Linked DNA regions of Homo sapiens: region 1 is linked to region 2. The links are contacts of gene promoters, found by promoter capture Hi-C in blood cells and fetal thymus (Javierre and others, 2016). All regions are on one chromosome and are shown on one strand. The core of a region is centred on a gene start or on the middle of the fragment in contact, and the rest is flanking DNA. Distances in the headings are between cores, read along the strand shown. Region 1 holds the start of RNASE3 (ribonuclease A family member 3). Region 2 holds the start of EDDM3A (epididymal protein 3A).

The links. Contacts are between HindIII fragments. The CHiCAGO score rates a contact against its expected background, and 5 or more counts as called.
Region 1: the fragment with the promoter of RNASE3 here is called in contact with the fragment with the promoter of EDDM3A in region 2 in 9 of 17 cell types (fetal thymus, total B cells, endothelial precursors and 6 more); the score reaches 10.2 in fetal thymus.

Annotation. Positions count from the first base shown.
Region 1 is chr14:20,888,409-20,895,164 of GRCh38, forward strand. RNASE3 (ribonuclease A family member 3) reads left to right here and starts at 2,977. Exons shown (of 2, transcript NM_002935.3): 1 at 2,977-3,043; 2 at 3,274-3,940. The coding sequence starts at 3,279. The coding sequence ends at 3,761. The region is part of intron 1 of LOC100507513 (a long non-coding RNA gene); the gene reads right to left. The HindIII fragment of the contact is 4,045 bases long and covers 2,943-6,756 here.
Region 2 is chr14:20,742,596-20,749,076 of GRCh38, forward strand. It overlaps EDDM3A (epididymal protein 3A), which reads left to right and starts at 3,292. Exons shown (of 2, transcript NM_006683.5): 1 at 3,292-3,397; 2 at 4,960-5,785. The coding sequence starts at 4,986. The coding sequence ends at 5,429. All of the region lies in intron 2 of LOC107984671 (a long non-coding RNA gene), which reads right to left. The HindIII fragment of the contact is 4,056 bases long and covers 1,284-5,339 here.

The DNA.
Region 1 (6,756 bases), core at 1,727-4,226, 150 kb after region 2:
CTGTGTGCAGGAAGGTATCGATGGTTTGGTACCTCCCTGTCAGCAGGTTAAGAGCAAATATTGCAAGGGTACCCTGGGGCTGAAGAAATTGCAAGCATTGAACATTATATTTTTGCACATAAATGCTATGCAAAAAAGACATTGATCAATGCAGTGTACTCAACAGTGGTTTTTACCACAAATGCAGAAGTCTTTGTCTGGGATAATATTTTACAATGTTCATCGGTTTCCAAAAAATGACTTAACACTAGGGCGTAATTCTGACTATTCCTCTCATTGGAAGTGTGGATCAGGTCTGAAAATGTGTCGTTAAATTAGGCTGCAAGACAAGTTATGCTAATAAAATAAAGAGCCCGGGTGAAGTGCCTTGTGTCTGTTCAAGACAAAATCATGCTGAAGTTACAGAGAATTTTGTTTCGATTACAGAGATCATAACAGATAATTTTCTTTAATGTTGACTTATACTTTATTCCTGCTTCATATAAAACATCTTCTCTCAAAGGTCATAAATATCAAAGTAGATCATTTGTACTACTTCTGCTGGCAAATGAAGGTAGTTGGAAATGTACGCAGGAAATCTACACAAGGGACAATCAGAAAAACCTTATGAGCATGTTCTGAATGCAATTTTTATGGCTGGGAGCAGTGGCTCATACTTGTAATCCCATCACTTTGGAAGGCCGAGGTGGGCGCATTACCTGAGGTCAGGAGTTTGAGACCAGCCTGGCCAACATGGTGAAACCCCGTCTCTACTAAAAATACAAAAATTAGGCGGGCATTGTGTCGAGCGCCTGTAATCCCAGCTACTCAGGAGGCTGAGGCAGGAGAATCACTTGAACTTGGGAGGCGGAGGTGGAGGTTGCAGTGAGATCACGCCACTGCAGTCCAGCCTGGGTGACAAGAGCAAGACTCCGTCTCAAAAAAAAACAAAAAACAAAAAACTCCACAATTTTAAAGGATGAATATGGTTGCAAATTGGGCAGGTTATGGTCTGCTTAAGACACTTCAATAAGTCTGATATGTCATAAGCACAGATGTCTTCAGGAGCCAGGCAGGTGTCATCACTGAACAGATAGGATAAAAGTCAGGAGGGAGAGTGGAGTCAGAGAACAGCCCTGAGCTAGAGCCCCTTCCACAGACGCAGCTGTTACTCAGCTCTAATTGATACAACACCAATGGTGCACCAACCACCATCATGTGATTTTTAAAGATAAGACAGTAATGAAAACTTTTAGTGAACTATTCCAATGTCAAACTTTATCTTCCAAACCAAACATCATAAATAGCACTGTGTATGCTGAAAAGAAGCACTGTTTAGCCAAGTACCTGCCCTGGGGCTGCAGTCTATGTCTTTTGCCTCATACTATAGACACTTAAGTGCAAATGTTTCTAGCCAGTGTGGCTGTCAGCATCACAGAGGGGATACTCTACGTATCATTCACCTTTACATTCTCATCACCTACAAAAATGATCTCCACACAATATACATGAAAAAATAAACTTGCCTCATGATAAAGCTGCTAATGAATGTCGGCCAGAACAGGACTTCAAGGCAGAGCAATATTAGCTGCGCATTGAGTCCTCACCAGGTCACCATTGTGTCCACATTTACCTAAGGACCCCAGTGATAAAATTATTGCATTTCTAAATGACAGGAAAATTGGACGGTAGTAAAAATTAGGCAGATTAACTGTTGGAAGGTATATTATATCATTTAAGGGTCTACTTTCCATTTTCTAATCTCAAAGCTAGACCAGATTTAACATCTGTTAGTACCCAGGCCTTACCTTTGCAATTCACTTCTCACCTCTGTACAATTTCCCCACATCATCCCCTGTGCCCAGAATGCTCATCTCTTCTCTAAATCCCCTGAAAATCCCCTGCTTATCCTTTAGGACCTGCTGAAATAAACTTTTTTTTGAAGTTTTCCTTATTTCTCAAGCCAAGTGATTTCCTTCACCAGCAGTGTCCCTATGACACCATGTTCACACAAATGCTATTACCTCTATCACACTGTAATACAATTATATGTCTACAAGTACTTTCCTGTGTTTCTCTGAGGGCCAAGAATAAATGTATGCTTTGTGTATCAAACTGTACACTTGACCTCTATACTTTCAGGAATACAGTGCTCTGTCCTTAAATGTTCATTTGTAAATACAGAACCATATTCTTGTTAATATCACAAAATGAAACTTACCAGGAAGATGAATGACAACCCCAGAACACACTGTTTTGTAGAAAATACCATAGGCTGAAAAGATCACAGGAATACCGAGTGCTAGGTTGGAATCTTTCATGACACCAAATGTTCATTCATCCTCTGCCAGATTTTACAACTGTCCTCGGTGTGTTTTTAGGTTATGTAACTTTACACAAAGTGGAATCAATAATCAGGGCAAGACTTAAGAGAAAGTGGATCCAATGCAAGAGGAGTAAAGAAAAAAATTCCTCAATTGTATGGAGCAGATTGTTTTAATTATCTACAGAATCTTGTGCCCCAAGAAATTAATAGCTCAAGTTTCCAGCAAGAGTGGTGGATGAGATGGAGAGCATTTATGTGAGAGAGAACCAAGGATATTACTAAAAATGGAAGGGAAGCTGGGTTTCTCCTGGGCAAACAGCCCTCTGTGGCTCTATTTCTCCTAACTACTATGCCTGCCTTCGTGTCATTTAGTCATTTAGGGGCCTGCCAGAGGACAGTTATAAAATCTGTGGTCATTCTGCCGGCAGCGTATAGTTTTCACCCAGAGTCCAGATCCCACCGGCAAAACTCTGTCTAACACAGGATGACTTGGAATTAGAGTCCGTATAGCAGAAAGAGCAGCAGGGCTGTCCTTGGGTATCCGTTGCTCAGCCAAGTCATCAAATAAAAAGGATGATTGCACAAGTGGACCATGTGTCAATCTGTGGGTTTCTGCATGGCCAGACCCACCAAGGGAAGCTTTATTTAAACAGTTCCAAGTAGGGGAGACCAGCTGCCCCTGAACCCCAGAACAACCAGCTGGATCAGTTCTCACAGGAGCCACAGCTCAGAGACTGGGTAAGTCAACAATCCCCAGAGCTGGGACAGGAGGGGCAGCGACAGGGCAGCACCTGAGGGAGAGGTGAGCTGAAGTTAGTGCTTAGGAGATGTGGCACACTTTGGGGACAGGAAGAAAAGGAAATGCGACCCCAGAGTGGCAGCAGAGGGGCCTGTGGGTTGAGACACTATAGAGTGTGTCATAACCGAGACCGGATCGGGGAGTAGTTACTTCTCTTCTTTTCTTACAGGAAACATGGTTCCAAAACTGTTCACTTCCCAAATTTGTCTGCTTCTTCTGTTGGGGCTTATGGGTGTGGAGGGCTCACTCCATGCCAGACCCCCACAGTTTACGAGGGCTCAGTGGTTTGCCATCCAGCACATCAGTCTGAACCCCCCTCGATGCACCATTGCAATGCGGGCAATTAACAATTATCGATGGCGTTGCAAAAACCAAAATACTTTTCTTCGTACAACTTTTGCTAATGTAGTTAATGTTTGTGGTAACCAAAGTATACGCTGCCCTCATAACAGAACTCTCAACAATTGTCATCGGAGTAGATTCCGGGTGCCTTTACTCCACTGTGACCTCATAAATCCAGGTGCACAGAATATTTCAAACTGCACGTATGCAGACAGACCAGGAAGGAGGTTCTATGTAGTTGCATGTGACAACAGAGATCCACGGGATTCTCCACGGTATCCTGTGGTTCCAGTTCACCTGGATACCACCATCTAAGCTCCTGTATCAGCAGTCCTCATCATCACTCATCTGCCAAGCTCCTCAATCATAGCCAAGATCCCATCCCTCCATGTACTCTGGGTATCAGCAACTGTCCTCATCAGTCTCCATACCCCTTCAGCTTTCCTGAGCTGAAGTCCCTTGTGAACCCTGCAATAAACTGCTTTGCAAATTCATCTGGAAGTGTCTGTGTGTCTTCCTCGGCCGCTCTGCTGTCATTTAGTGACAATCTGCTCTAGAGATTTGGGTTTATCATGAATCTCTCCCCCTCAATATCTGACCAAATTCCTTAATTCCCCCATCATCCTTCATGTGATACCTGATTCCAGGCCTGCCTTAAAAAAAAATCCAATTGAGTCAACTTAGCATTGGTCTCCCTAGCCTTAATATCTCCTCTAAGCAATTTTCCATCCACTGACTCCTCCCCCAACACCAACCTATAACTTGTGTATAGATCTCCACTTGTTTTAGTTGTATTCCAGAATTGAGCCCAATTTGATATTGAGGTCCCATTTGATGCTTTATGGTCCGACTATGGTTTTTATTGACATGATTTCTATCCCAAGAAAAAAAGAGCTGCAGTGAATCAGCTGAAAATGCACGTGCTTCATTATGATTTATGAATGATAAATTTTGATAGAATTGAACGTTATGATAGAAAATAGAAAAGAAGAAAGTAGAAAAAGTCAAGAATGCTATAAATAAGGTGAAACCAAGATAAAGAAAAGTTTAGCCTCAGGGATATTTCTTTTAAATGGGCACATCAAGTCTCCAGCTATTAGCAATCGTAATAGAGGTGGAACCAGGGTTTGAGTCAAATGTGCAATAAGATAAATTGTTCCGACAGCAGTAAGGACAGATTGTAATGCTGACTGGAGGAGAGGTGGACATCTTTCCCAAAAGTTCCATGTCCTGGAGATGGGGAGCCGCTGGTCACGTGGGAAGGAGAAGGGGGAGGAGGAGGAGGAGGAAGTGGGAGCACTCATGAAGGTGAGTTGGCTCCTGCCCATTCTGCCCTCCATAGATGTTCCCAATGGCGAGTCAAAGGTTCATTCAACACCTGTCAGGAAGGGCACAGCCTCGAGAATTCAGGATTTGTAGACCCAGAGAGAGAAGAAATGGATGATGAGAGCCGCTGCCCTGGACTCCAACACAGGGCTTCACTCAGGAATCCATGAGAAACAGGGGAGAAAAAGGGGAAGCCCCTTCCTGCAAGTTGTGGACAGGTGCAGCATTCAAGTGATTGTTCCAGGAACAGAGTGGGTCTTTTTGAATGGCCCGACTCAGAATGCAAGAGAGGTACGATGCCATCAGATCTGCACCTTGGTCCTTCAGTCTGAGATTTCTGACTTCTATATTTCTCCTCCTCTTCCAGACCCTGAGAAACAGCAATTTCCATTCCTCAGATGACTCCATGTCAGTAATGGTGCTTTAATTGGCATCAGACAGCAGCTGTATTGAAGTCTCTCCTCTGGAGAAGCTATTGAGATCTTGCTTCTCCAAGGTCGGGCTGTGAACTTAAAAGTTTGCACAGAGACACTGAGTTTGGGAAATCTCAGTGCTCAACAGAATCCACTGACTCTAGGTAAAACAGGGCATGTCAGGAAGTGAGTGCAGTCTTCCCATAACCTCAGAGTAGCAGAAGGAGAAGGTGGGACTCTGAAAGCTGGAGCCACGTTTCCTGTGAAGAAAGATGGAGTGGACCTTCCTTGCTTCAGGTACCAGATCACAGGTCTCTTCTCAGTCGGGGATGCCTCATCTCTAAAACCACAGGATAGAGGGATCAGTCCCCACCTGCCCCCACACCCTCTCCACCTTGTGACTTCATCCTCTCTCGTCATTCATTCCTTCGTTCATTCATTCATCCAGCAGTCATCTACTGAGCAGATACCTTGCTCCAGGCACAGTTTGAGGGAGTGATGATGCAACACAAACCAAGACAGGTCCCTGCTCTTTTGAGGCCACATTATACAAGGATAAAAATAAACATACAAAATTGTTCTAAGCATACAAAATTTTGCTAAGTGTCAGGAGGAAAAATACACAGCATAGTACACAGAAAATTACACAGAGCAGCACAATATAGAGGTTCTGTATGTGCCACAAAAGTGACAGGGCAGAGTGTCACCAGGAAAGACTTATCTCAGAGAATGAAATCTGAACAGGAGGAAAAGCAGCCAGTCATGCAGACACCAGATGGAGAATCATCCCAGCAAAGAGAAAGAGAGTTCAAAAGTCCTGACAAATACCAAGGCTGTAAGAAGACTTTTCGTTCTGTGTTTACGATAAGTTGATTAAAACATCTGAAGGAGAATGACTACCATTATTCGCATCTTTGTATGTATTTATTCCTTAATGTAATAAAACATTTTCAGTTTTAAAAAATGGTCCTGAATGGATAGAGGTTTGGCGTGTTAGAAGCACAAAAGTTGTTTGGTCAGGACAAGATCATCATAGCCATGAGTGTTAATGATAGGAGTTAATGAGGTTCAGACCCTTCATGCCTGTGAAGATGGAAGAATAAAGTAAGTTCCTCATGGGGCACAAATCGAGCATGTTACATGCAAGAATAACATTGCCTAAAGATCTGTCCAGCTGCTGTGCAAAACACAACTATTTGGGAGACAAGAGTGGAAGCAAGGCCCCAATGAAGGACCACAAGTTGAGGGAGAGGGAAACAAGAGTCTTCCAATCTCAGTGAATCTCACCATCATCCTCTCATGGTGCAGCCCCATGCTATTCCCCTCCCTGTTGCCATGGCCTCTCTCCAGCCCCTCCATGCCTTCCACATCATCTTCCTGCCATCCCCATGCTGATGACTGGGCTGAGGTCAGAGGCAGCTCCCCTCTCCCAGGACGTGAGACGATTCAAACAAGACCAAGGAGGATTCTGTGCTTGACCATCAGGAAACCCTGGCTGGACTCACTGCCCCTTCTGCAGTAGACATCCAAGATTTTCTGATTGCCCTGGACCCAAGGCCAGCACCACAGAG
Region 2 (6,481 bases), core at 2,042-4,541:
TGTTTTGTTTTGTTTTTGAGAGACAGGGTCTCACTCAGTCACCCAGGCTGGTGCTATCATAGCTCAGTCCAGCCTTAAACTTCTAAGCTCAAGCAATCTTCCTGCCTCCGTTTCCCAAGTAGCTGAGGTTACAGGCACGTGCTACCACTACTGGCCTTAAAAATTTTTCTTTTTTTTTTTTGGTAGAGTCAGGTTATCATTATGTTGACCAGGCTGGTTTTCAACTCCTGGCCTCAAGTGATCCTCCCACCTCAGCCTCCTAAGTAGCTGGGACTACAGGCATGTGCCACCACACCCAACTAATTGTTTTAATTTTCTGTAGAGATAGGGTTTCTCCCTGTGTTGCCCAGGCTGGTCTCAAACTCGTGAGCTCAAGTGATCCTCCCACTTTGACCTTCTCAAGTGTTGGGATTACAGGTGTGAGCCACTATGCCCAGCCCCTACATTTCAATATGGGTGAGTGAAAATAGAGATGTAATTTTCTGCACTGCACTACTGCATTGATCCTATGAATTCCATCCATGGAGCCCTTGGAAGTCCGTGGATCACAGATTAAGACACCTATAGACGTTGTCATCCCCTGAATGAGGAACCTAAGTCACTTTTATGGTTTTGTGAAACAGTAGTTCACAAACATTTAAGAATTGAATAGTGGCTAACAAAAGAAATATTGGCTTGGTGCGGTGGCTCACGCTTTTAATCCCAGCACTTTGAGAGGCCAAGGCGGGTGGATCACCTGAGGTCAGGAGTTTGAGATCAGTCTGGCCAACATGGCAAAACCCTGTTTCTACTAAAAATACAAAAATTACCCGGATGTGTTGGTGCGCACCTGTACTCCCAGCTACGCAGAAGGCTGAGGCAAGAGAATCACTTGAACCCAGGAGGCAGAGGTTCCAGTGAGCTGAGATCATGCCTGGACGACAAGAGTGAAACTCCATTCCAAAAATAATAATAATAATAATAAAAGGACATATCAAGGAATTAACAGAAAATAATTAAAATCAAAGACAATAAAGGATGAACATAATTTTCAAGTGATTTAAAATTTATATTTAAAGGGGAATACCTCCTTAAAAACCGAAATCAAAAGTCACTGCCCAAGGAGCTTCTGTTACACAAGCTGGTAGACAACCCTAGGAAGTAGACCCATTACGTAGTTTCCAGAAATACTGGTTGGGTTACCTTCCTGGGCTGCATTCATAGTGGCTAATTTCTGTAAATATAACAATATGCTTTTCCCCAGTTTAGTTTAGATGGCCTCCTAATTGGGTTTATATCCAAAAAGCTTTAGGACTTTGGGCTTAGCTCATAGGAGAGTTCATGGATGTATGCTTGGAGTCCATGATTTTTTTTCCATATTAAAAGTGGAATATCAAGTATTTGAGAAACACTGGCTCATACATTGGCTCAGGTGGCTTCTCTCTCCCACCTCTCTACATTCATTGAGTCACTACTTGAATTTGTCTTCAATAGACAATGCACATTTGTTGGAAAGAGCTCTGGATGTGTGGGCACATGACAAAAAACTGATTTTCCCTCAGAATCGCCTCTCAAATCATCCAAATTCAGAGGCCCAGAATTGTTCCTGTTTTGCTCTCCCCTGTCCCCCAAAGACCTAGAGAGTAGAAGGATGCACAGAACCTGCTCTAAGACTATCTCCCGTCCATCCAGTCTATCAGCACATGATTTTCTATTACTCAAGGACTGCTTCACAGGAGTGGGGGTTTGAAGATAAGTTCTGGATATAAACTGAACCTTCTGTCATTCCAACAATAAGGTGGCCCAGTGAGAAAATCAACTAAGGTGGTTTGGCTAGGAGCAGCCTTTGGAAGTGTTGTTAGAAAAGATTTGCAAGAGTCTTACTTTATTCATAAATCGTAACTTTGACTAGTGTTGATGAACCAGTATTGGTCACATTTGCCAATTTGTGGGGAGTTGGCATGGAAAATATGGTGGAAAATTCCGGCTGTGATGTTAAAGGTAACCATTGAACACTTGCACAAACTCAGTTGAAGAAGTTGTGGTCTTGTCAGTTTGAGCTGAGTTCAGGACTGAATCTTGAGGTCCTGAAAAACAACTTAGCCAGCACCTTGTGACCTATACTTCACAGTCAGATGTTACGTATAGTAGCATTGTAGAAACTATGGCCAGGCTATGTGACATTTTAATAGTAAGCAGTACAGTGTCACCAAACAGCTAAAGGTTATAATTAAAAAACTGAGTAGAGAAATTTCAGATACTGGCTACCTAATCATTCATAGCTATTTGGCCACTGTGTTCACTAGATATTCTTTCACCTCTCAATGAAGGTCTCACAATTCACAACATTAAAAGTGATTTTCTGGCCTGACCAAGTGGCTCATGCCTGTAATCCCAGCACTTTTAGAGGCTGATGTGTTGAGGCTTAGCTAGGCTCAGGAGTTCAAGACCAACCTGGCCAACATGGTGAAACCCTGTCTCTACAAAAATTAATACAAAAAACTAGCCAGGCATGGTGTTGCATGCCTATAGTCCCAGCTACTCAAGAGGCTGAGGTGGGAGGATTGCTTGAGCCTGGCAGGTTGAGACTGCAGGGAGCAGTGTTTGTGCGACTGCACTCCAGCCTGGGCGACAGAGCAAGACCCTGTCAAAAAAAAAAAAAAGGCAAAAGACCAGGCACAGCGAGTCACACCTGTAATCCCAGCACTTTGGGAGGCTGAGGCAGGCAGATCATGAGGTCAGGAGATCGAGACCATCCTGGCTAACACGGTGAAACCCCGTCTCTACTAAAAATACAAAAAATTAGCTGGGCGTGGTGACAGGCGCCTATAGTCCCAGCTACTCAGGAGGTTGAGGCAAGAGAATGGGGTGAACCCGGGAGGCGGAGCTTGCAGTGAGCCGAGATCTCGCCACTGCACTCCAGCCTGGGCAACAGAGCGAGACTCCATCTCAAAAAAAAAAAAAAGGTGGCTTTCCTCAGTGAAGTTCCCATGTAACATAGCATAACCCTCCAGGGACTTCCCCAGAAGTTTGTTAGAATTGAGAGCAGAGCTAAGTCTCTGGTTGTCTCCTGATAGCACCAGATAACCCTTTTCTGGGGTCACCTAGGGTCTTGCAATCATTTTGTACCCAGGGCTCAGCCTTTGATGTTTGTAGCCTTTGCTCGAGGCTACTGTTTGAGTGAGCCCAAGTGTTCCAGATGAAACGATACAGGGACAAGTTCACATAATAAGGCTGTTCCCCATCACCACCTCGGCTACCAATCAGCTGGAGCCCTGCAGCTCCCCCTACTATTCCTTTCTCCACTGCTGTAGATTTCCAGGGCTCTGAGAAAAGGAGGAGGACGCAGACTCTGCTCTTCAGATCCACATGCTGATCCCCACTACAATCAGTGACCTGAACTCAGAGTCCAAGTAGGGTAAGAAGGGCTCTGCTGAGGTTGCTCGGGGGACAGCCAGGAACACTGGAAGGAGGCTGATTGAACTTTTAGATAGCAAACAATGGAGAAGGATCCAAATCATGGAAAACAAAGGTCTGAATTCTGGTTAGCCTCAGTCCCACTGATACAGGCTTTTCCCTGCCCCTCCCTTCCTTCACCGCCAGTCCTCCTAAGCACAGTGCATTAAAGCTGCTTGCATCCTACTCTTCTATCTTGTGTAGGCCTTTATCACCAGGACAGGGTTCCACAGATGAGGAACCCTGTGCCTGATGTGGGCATTTGACATCTTTAGAAGTGCTCTCACATGCTTGCATCTCATTAGACTCTTGCAGGTCTGTAGGGAGCTGTGATTAGGCCTATCTGAGGACACCGATACTCAGAGCTATGAATCAGGCTAGAGGTTCAGTAGGGCCAGGAATACTCCTCATGGCAAATGAGGACAGATAGCTGGTAAAGAGATAACTTTTTCAAACGACCATACATCCTATGCTGTGACCACAGTAGCTCTGCGGGGGACTGTTTTAGTTTTGGTGCCTGATTGATTACAGCAACAGTTCTAAACTGATGTCCTTTTATGATGGCATTGTCAATAAGCTCTAACAAATGAAGATCATTTGTAATAGCAGTAATTAGGGAAATGGCCTCTGAGAAGGGATGCCGATAGTTAATAATGATCACATGTTTCACCCAGACTTTGGGGAAAGTGTTATAAGGAAGTCAAGGTTGGAAAAACATCATTTTTCAGAGAAGTGCAATTGCAGCCTGGGCTGTGGTTTCCAGAATCAATGCCTTCTGCCTAGGAACCACCTCCCAAGTAGTTACTCATCTTCTACATTCCCTTAAAATGCAACAATCTTTTCCACTTTGCAGACAATACGCTTAAAATGTCATTTTTCTATTGGACACATGATCTCCTGAGAGCTTATTTGGTAAAAGAGAGCTCGATAGTGATTGGCTCCTCAAATTGGGTAGAAGACAGGGTAGACAGGAGATATTTGAAATTCTCAAAAGGTACTTTATCTATATTTTCCAAATTTGTGTTAGCTCTCACAGGCTAAAGCATATTTTTAGTTCTTAGAAACTGTATTCTTTTTTTTTTTTTTTTTTGAGACGGAGTTTTGCTTTTGTCACCCAGGCCGGAGTGCAGAGGTGTGATGTCGGCTCACCGCAACCTCCGCCTCCCAGGTTCAAGCGATTCTCCTGCCTCAGCCTCTCGAGTAGCTGGGTCTACAGCCACCATGTCCAGCTACTTTTTGTATTTTAGTAGAGATGGGGTTTCACCATGTTGGCCACGGTGTTTCTCGAACTCCTGACCTCAGGTGATACACCCACCTTGGCCTCCCAAACTGCTGGGATTACGGGTATAAGCCACTGTGCCCAGCCCAGAAACTGTATTCTTTAATGAGAATCATCATCTTCTAATATGGAACCAAATAGCAATATAGTGCCCAAGTACCTGCTTGGCAGGGAAAGGAATTTTAAGGTGGAGCTCAGCTCTCTGAGTATAGTCTGGTTAATGCTTTTCTTTCTCTTCCCTGTAGACACGCAGGTGGACGTGGTGACTGAGATGACATCCTCTCTAAAGATTTGGGGCATACTCTTGGCCCTGCTTTGCATCCTTTGCAGGCTGTGTGTATACAGTAACAACATTTACTGGAGAGAATTCATAAAACTTCATTACTTAAGTCCAAGTCGAGAATTCAAAGAGTACAAATGTGATGTCCTCATGAGAGAAAAAGAGGCTCTGAAAGGCAAGAGCTTTCATATGTTCATCTATAGCTTATGGTTCAAAATTCAGCGTGCATGCATCAATGAGAAGGGGAGCGACCGATATAGAAATGCATATGTATGGGCCCCAGGTGCCCTCAAAGTACTCGAGTGTCACTGGGAGAAGTACAACAATAGGTACACAGAGAGCAGAAGCTTCAGCTACATTGAATTCCATTGTGGCGTAGATGGATATGTTGATAACATAGAAGACCTGAGGATTATAGAACCTATCAGCAACTAGAAAGTCTATGCACATCCTCAGATATTGGTAGAGTATTCAGTGCTTCCAAAGTGGTGGGCCCTGCCTCCATCAATAGCCCCTGCCACTCCCCGCTTACATTTATGTGTCAGTGTTTTCCAACTACTTAGAGTTTATGTACCTCGTGATTTCTTGATACCAAATCTTTGTGTGGTTTCTGTATCTGTAATACAATTTTGTCCTAATTTGCCTAATTTACACCCACATTTTTTCCAAGATTCAGCTCATATGGCATCTGTCCTCGACTAACCTAAGACTTTCCTGATATTGACTCTCTTTATACCTACCCAAGCTGAACGACCCTCCTTTTCTTAAATAAAATATATTATTCTAACGTATGTGACGCTTATATATGTTATGTGTGCAGAGTATGTATCGTGTGATTGGTATGGGTATCGGTGATCTAGGCTATTTTTGCCTATGGCTGTGCAAGGGGTTTAATGTGCACTTTATGTGTCTGTGTCTAATGTATGTGATATGTTTATGTATATCATGTGGATATAAATGATTGTGTGCTAAACTGGAGACAAGTAGTGATGTAAGCACTCATCGTGGTAGCAATTTGAAATAATCAAAAGGGTCAAAATCCAGTTTTAAGGAGTGGGCTGGGCACTGTGACTCATGCCCATAATTTCAGCACTTTGGGAGGCTGAAACAGGTGGGTCACCTGAGGTCAGGAGTTTGAGACCAGCCTGGCCAACATGGTAAGGCCCTGTCTCTACTAAAAGTACAAAAATTTGCCAGGCTTGGTGGCACATACCTGTAGTTCTAGCTATGGGAGGCTGAGGCAGGAGAATCTCCTGAACCTGGGAGGCAGAAGTTGCAGTGAGCCGAGATCACGCCACTGCACTCCAGCCTGGATGACAGAGCAAGACTCCGTCTCCATCTCAAAAAAAAAAAAAAAAAAAGAGTTTACTAAAGTGAAAGGCTGGGAATGGACATTCTGTGGCACACAGATTCCAGAGAAATGGGGTCAGTACTCCAAAGTTAAAAGTTAAGTTCTTTTTTATGTAGGAAAAAGAGAAAGAAGTGAG